Linked DNA regions of Homo sapiens: region 2 is linked to region 1. Evidence: promoter capture Hi-C in 16 types of primary human blood cells and fetal thymus (Javierre and others, 2016). All regions are on one chromosome and are shown on one strand. Each heading gives the region's core, a stretch centred on a gene start or on the middle of the fragment in contact. The rest is flanking DNA. Distances are from core to core; before and after follow the strand shown.

Evidence for each region. The method cuts DNA at HindIII sites, captures the fragments that hold promoters and counts their contacts. A CHiCAGO score of 5 or more calls a contact.
Region 2: a fragment that was not itself captured here is called in contact with the fragment with the promoter of PHGR1 in region 1 in 1 of 17 cell types (activated CD4 T cells); the score reaches 5.4 in activated CD4 T cells.

Annotation. Positions count from the first base shown.
Region 1 is chr15:40,349,664-40,352,505 of GRCh38, reverse strand. It overlaps PHGR1 (proline, histidine and glycine rich 1), which reads right to left and starts at 1,473. Exons shown (of 4, transcript NM_001145643.2): 1 at 1,444-1,473. The HindIII fragment of the contact is 24,416 bases long and covers 1-2,842 here.
Region 2 is chr15:40,059,051-40,061,892 of GRCh38, reverse strand. The region is part of intron 2 of SRP14-DT (SRP14 divergent transcript); the gene reads right to left. Among named protein-coding and RNA genes, the nearest start is that of SRP14-DT, 21 kb to the right of the region's middle. RefSeq lists an enhancer at 253-312. The HindIII fragment of the contact is 258 bases long and covers 1,359-1,616 here.

The DNA of each region.
Region 1 (2,842 bases), core at 224-2,723:
CTGAGGTAACGTGGTGCCAAGGCTGGCCATGTCTTGCTTGGGGCTGGCAAGTCACAATGGACAACCCCAGAATGGGCCCAGTGAACATACAGTACATTCATTTTTTTTCAACCCTCAAATGGGAGTGTAGTATGTGACGTCAGGAGCAAATACTTGACATCAGGGCTTTCTGGTACTTACAAGTTTGCTGAGCATACAAAAACAAACAGCGCCCCCAATACAACAACCCTAGCCTCTTGCAAGACACAGCCCCCTGAACCTCTTTTTTTTCTAGGGAGCCTTAGTGCCTCTTTAAAAGTTTTTTTGAGACAGTCTCACTTTGTCATACAGGCTGGAGTGCAGTGGCGTGATCACAGCTCACTGAAGCCTCGACCTCCAGGGTTCAAGCAATCCTCCCACCTTAACCTCTGGAGTAGCTGGGACTATAGGTATGTGCCACCACACCCAGCTAATTAAAAAAATTTTTTTTGGCTGGGCACAGCGGCTCATGCCTGTAATCCCAGCACTTTGGGAGGCCTAGATGGGTGGATCATTTGAGGTCAGGAGTTCGAGACCAGCCTGTCCAATATGGTGAAACCCCGTCTCTACTAAAAATACAAAAATTAGCTGGGCATGGTGGCGGGAACCTGTAGTCCCAGCTACTTGGGAGGCTGAGACAGAAGAATCGCTTGAACCCGGGAGGCAGAGGCTGCAGTGAGCCGAGATTGCAGCACTGCACTCCAGCCTGGGTGACAGAGTAAGACTCTGTCTCAAAAAAAAAAATTGTTTTGTAGAGACAAGGTCTCACTATGTAGCCTAGGCTCAAGTGATCCTCTCACCTTAGCCTCCCAAAGTGCTGGATTTCAGGCATGAGCCACTGCACCCGGCCCCCTGCACCTCTTGAGCTACCCATTTTCACTGGCCTCTACTTGTACTCAAAGTGTTCAGCTGAGGTCAGCCTGTGAACTATACCCATGGTCCTTCGTGCTCCCTCGTCCTTTCCCTTAGTGAGTGATAAAGCTGGAAGAGACCTATGGGGCTGGGCTTTGCGGGGAGGAGAGGTAAAGAAAACCTCAGGGCCAGTCAGGATCGGGTAAGACGAAAGAGAAAAGACAATCCTCAGAATGTATCTCCCCAGTTCAGGCCCAGGTGTTTGAGGGACAGGAGTTGGCAGCTCTGGAAGGGACCTCATGCAATTTCTTCCACTCTCAGCTAAGCCCTGCTGCCTGGCATGGCAAAGGCTATAAATCATAACTGAAGAAGACAGTGGAAGTGTAGGGGCCCAGCCCAGGAGTGGGGACAGTGCAAATGGACAGACACACACCCTCATGCAGAGACACGGAAGCACGGATACCAATTCAATGCATATACACACCCAGAGAGACCCTGACCACATGCACACACAACATACCCCACAGAGACCCTACTGTCCCCAGCCAACAGCAAGTAGAGCCAGGTCCCTACCTGAGAGTGCAGAGCAGGGGCAGGAAGTCTGGGGCACTGTCTGTCCTCAGGTGTATTTGTACAGGTCAGGGAGGGGCTGGGATTGAACAGGTGCACTGGGAGGGCCAGATGCAGAAGGCTCGAGGGAATGAAGAGGGATGGGCTAATCCTTATCTGGGCAAAGGACAGTTGAAAGCAGGATGTGTGTGTGTGTGTGTGTGTGTGTGTGTGTGTGTGTGTGATGGGGAGGCTGGGGAACAAGCCGTTACCAGATTGGTGTGGTAACGAGATGCCACAGAATCCAGGCAGAAGTCCCCAACACTGGCAAGGCTGTTTACACCAGGGACTGGCTCTGAACATTTGTAGAGTTCCTACTGAATGCCAGGCCAGGCATGCGGTGCTTCACACACATTAGTAACCCAATGAGTCCCACAAGATAGATAGGATGATTACCTCCTTTCAGCAGGTGGAGGAATAAATAGTGACCATAGTGGAGGACCTGGTGGAATATTTGCCCTGGGCGCCAAGCCCCAGGCCTGAATTGTCAGATGTGCTGCCCAGCCCAGGGAGCTAGCCTGAGAATGGAAATTAGACACAGAAAAGGGAACTTTTGGGATGGATCTAGGCAGGCGGGGAGGGAGCCCAGCCTGCCAGCTTGCTCTGCACTCCGAAAGCCCCTTGTGGTCCGGTCCCCACTGACCCCTGTGGCCTCTGATGCCTGCCACAACCTCTTGCTTGGCGTGCTCTAGCCATGGTGGCCTTCCTTAGTCCCCTGCAGACAGAGCCAGTGCCCTTGCTCAGCTCTCCTGTCTCCCTGGATCCTTGCTCCTGATGTCTCTTGATCCCAGTGGGGACTCTGTGCTCCTCAGAGGCAGGGGCTGTTGTGGCTTCCTTCCTTCCCTCCTTCCCTCCTCCTCCTCCTCCTCCTCTCTCTCTTTCTCTCTTTCTTTTCTTTCTGAGACGGAGTCTCTCTGTGTCACCCAGGCTGGAGTGCAGTCGCACGATGTCAGCTCACTGCAACCTCTGCATCCTGGGTTCAAGTGATTCTCCTGCCTCAGCCATCCGAGGAGCTGGAATTACAGGCGCCCGCCACCACTCCTGGCTAACTTTTGTATTTTTAGTAGAGACAGGGTTTCACCATGTTAGCCAAGCTAGTCTCAAACTCCTAACCTCAGGTGATCCACCCACCTCGACCTCCCAAAGTGTTGGGATTACAGGCATGAGCCACCACACCCGGCCTGTGGTGGCTTTCTTAGTCACCTTTATATCCCCTCAATTAGAGCAGTAACGTAACCACCATCAGGATACAATTTGGAAAATGGAGAGGAGGAAAAGAGTGATCCTCCTTTATCTCCACGGTGGGCAGGAAAGTGTTTGTGTGCCAGTTTCTCTTACAGTATCAGTTATCTCATATCAGCTC
Region 2 (2,842 bases), core at 238-2,737, 290 kb after region 1:
TTCAACCCCCTTCTCCAGCTCAATTCTGTAGGCCTTGACAAGAATCACCCATTTGTGGAAGCCCTCTCCTTTCTTGCTCTTTTCCCTTCATTTGGAATCTCCTGACACAGCCTCCACCCTGCTTAAACCCAACACCCTGCACCTGCACTGAGTAGCTGAGCATTGCCGGGGAAACTCACAGTCATACTGAATAGCCGCACTTGACGCTTCTGACCACAAACTTCAAGTGGGCGCTCAGCTTGCCCAGTAATCTTACTATATTTCTCTACTAAATTCACTGCGCCACTCTCCAGATAAGTGTTTCACATCTTCTCCAACCCTCAACACCTTCCCTTAGTTTCTCGCTGTTAGTTAAAGATCTTGCTTCTTATTTTGCTGAGAAACTAAATGTCATCTGCTGGAACGTACGTGCCTCTCACCATCAGATCTCCCAAGGTGCCTGCATCTATGCCCGCTGCTACCTTTCTTCCTCACAATGGATGCATGCATGGATAGATGGATGGATGGATGGATGGACGGAAGGATAGATGGACAGACGGACAGATGGATGGATGGATGGATGGGTGGACAGACGGACGGACGGACAGACGGATGGATGGACAGACAGATGGACAGATGGATAGATGGATGGACAGATGGAGGGATGGCCTCCTCTTGCATCCCTGGCCAATCCCTTCATTTTGTGCACCATATCCCTTCACTTACTCAAGACTGCCTGAAATCACCTTTCTCCCTCCTGCACTATCCAGCTCCTTCTCTCTGCCAGACCATTCCCTTCGGCACATAACTGCGCTATGATCTCTCTCACTTTCAAAACAAACTCTTCCTTGACCCTACACCCTCTTCAGCTTCTGCTCCACTTCCTCCTCCCTTTTACGCACCCCTCCTTGAAGTGGTTGTCCCTGCTGGCTACTTCTCCGAATCTTCACCTCCATTCCCTCTTAGCCTACACCAGCCAAGTTTTTGTTTCTGTCACTCCATTGAAACTGCCCTTGTCCAAGTCACCAGTGACCTCCTACTGGCGCATCCAAAAGGTCTGTCTCCTGGTCTCACCTCCTCAATTTCTCAGCAGCGTTTGCACAGTAGGGCACTCGCTCCTCCTTGCAACGCTGTCTTTCTTTGGAGTCCAGGACTCCACACTGGTCTGGCTTCCTCCTACCCGGATGGCAGCTCTTTCTCTGGCTCCTTCGCTGGCTCCTCCTCTTCTTGATCTCTAAATGTGAGCATGGTGTGGGGACTTTTTTCTTATTTACAGTCTCTCCCGGTTAGATGGTTAGATTCCATCTAGGCCTGTGCCTTTAAATGTCCTCTAGAGGTTGGGATCTTTGAGAGGCAACATGGAAGCGAGTAGAGAAGCTTGCCGGGGTGTGAACCCCTGCTCTGCCCCTGGTGAGCATGCCCCTGGTGTGATGTTGTTGCTGTTAAATTCTCCATGTAAGATCAGATCTTACATGGGGCCTGAGACAAAGGCTTAAGCATGAGTAGTTTATTTGGGAACATGATCCCAGGGAGCAGGGGTGAGGGGGAGGAGGAATGAAACAGAGAAAGGGGGGAGTCAATATGGGAGTGTGTTAACATCTCTCTGAGTGAACACCACTCAGTCTTTCTGTGAAGCTTTATGAAACGTACTTCAGAACTCACTGGAAGAAGGGGGACAGTTATCCATTGGCTCCTCTCGAGTCATCCCATGGAATGTTAGCTCCCCTTCACTTCTGGGCGGCTCATGTGTTAATGCCAAGCAGGTTCCATGGGTGTCCCCCCATCATGGTGTTGGGCGAGAGGCATGTGGAGAGGCCCTGCCAGGCGACATTTACACGGCACTGGTCAAGACCTGTGCAAAACTGGTCACTGGGGCAATGGCTGGAACAAGAGGTGAGGCCGCGGGCATCTGAAATGGCACACAGGATACGCCCCCTATGGACAGGGATAGCTACAGCTCTCGCCTCATAGGTTACTGAGAAGACTAAATGATTTAATGTATGTGTTTGGAGGAGTGCCCAGCTCTTAGCAGTGACCATCTACATGGTGGTAACCCTGCCCTGACATCCCGTCTGCCTAGTGGACACCTCGGAGGCCTGTCATGTTCAAAACAGAACTCGTATGCCCCGTCCCTCCGCTTGTCCAACTATTCCTCCAGTCTTTTCACTGCAGTTAAATGGCCAGGATTCATCTCTCTCTCCCACCCCTCACAACCAATTATCAAACTCTAGCTTCAAAAAATACCCCAGTCTGGCCTTTTCATTAATCCTCATCACAAAGTGACCCACCCAGGCCAAGTCACTATTGCTCCTTGCCTGGCCGACTGCACTAGCTTCCCAACCATCTCCTGCCCCCACTCTCCCCTCCCTACAGTTTGTTCTCCCACAACAGCCTGAGTGAGAATGTTACTGCTGATTAAATCACCCTCTAACAGCTTCCTATTATCCTTTTTATAATTTTTTAAAATCCTTTTTTAAAAAATAACAAGGCTGGGCATAGTGGCTCACGCTTATAATCCTAGCACTTTGAGAGGCCAAGGCAGGAGGATCACTCAAGCCTAGGAGTTTGAGGCTAGCTTGGACAATATAGTGAGACCCCTGTCTCTACAAAAAAAAAAAAAACACCTTAAAAATTAGCTGGGTATGGTGGTGCATGCACCTATAGTCCCAGTTACTTAGGAGGCTGAGGTAGGAGGATCACTTGAGCCTGGGAGGTCGAGGCTGCAGTGAGCTGTGATTGTGTCACGTCACTGCACTCCAGCCTAGGCGACAGAACAAGATCCTGTCTCAAAATAAATAAATGAATAAATAAATAAATCAGCTTTATTGAGATGTAATTCACATATCATATAATTCACCCACTG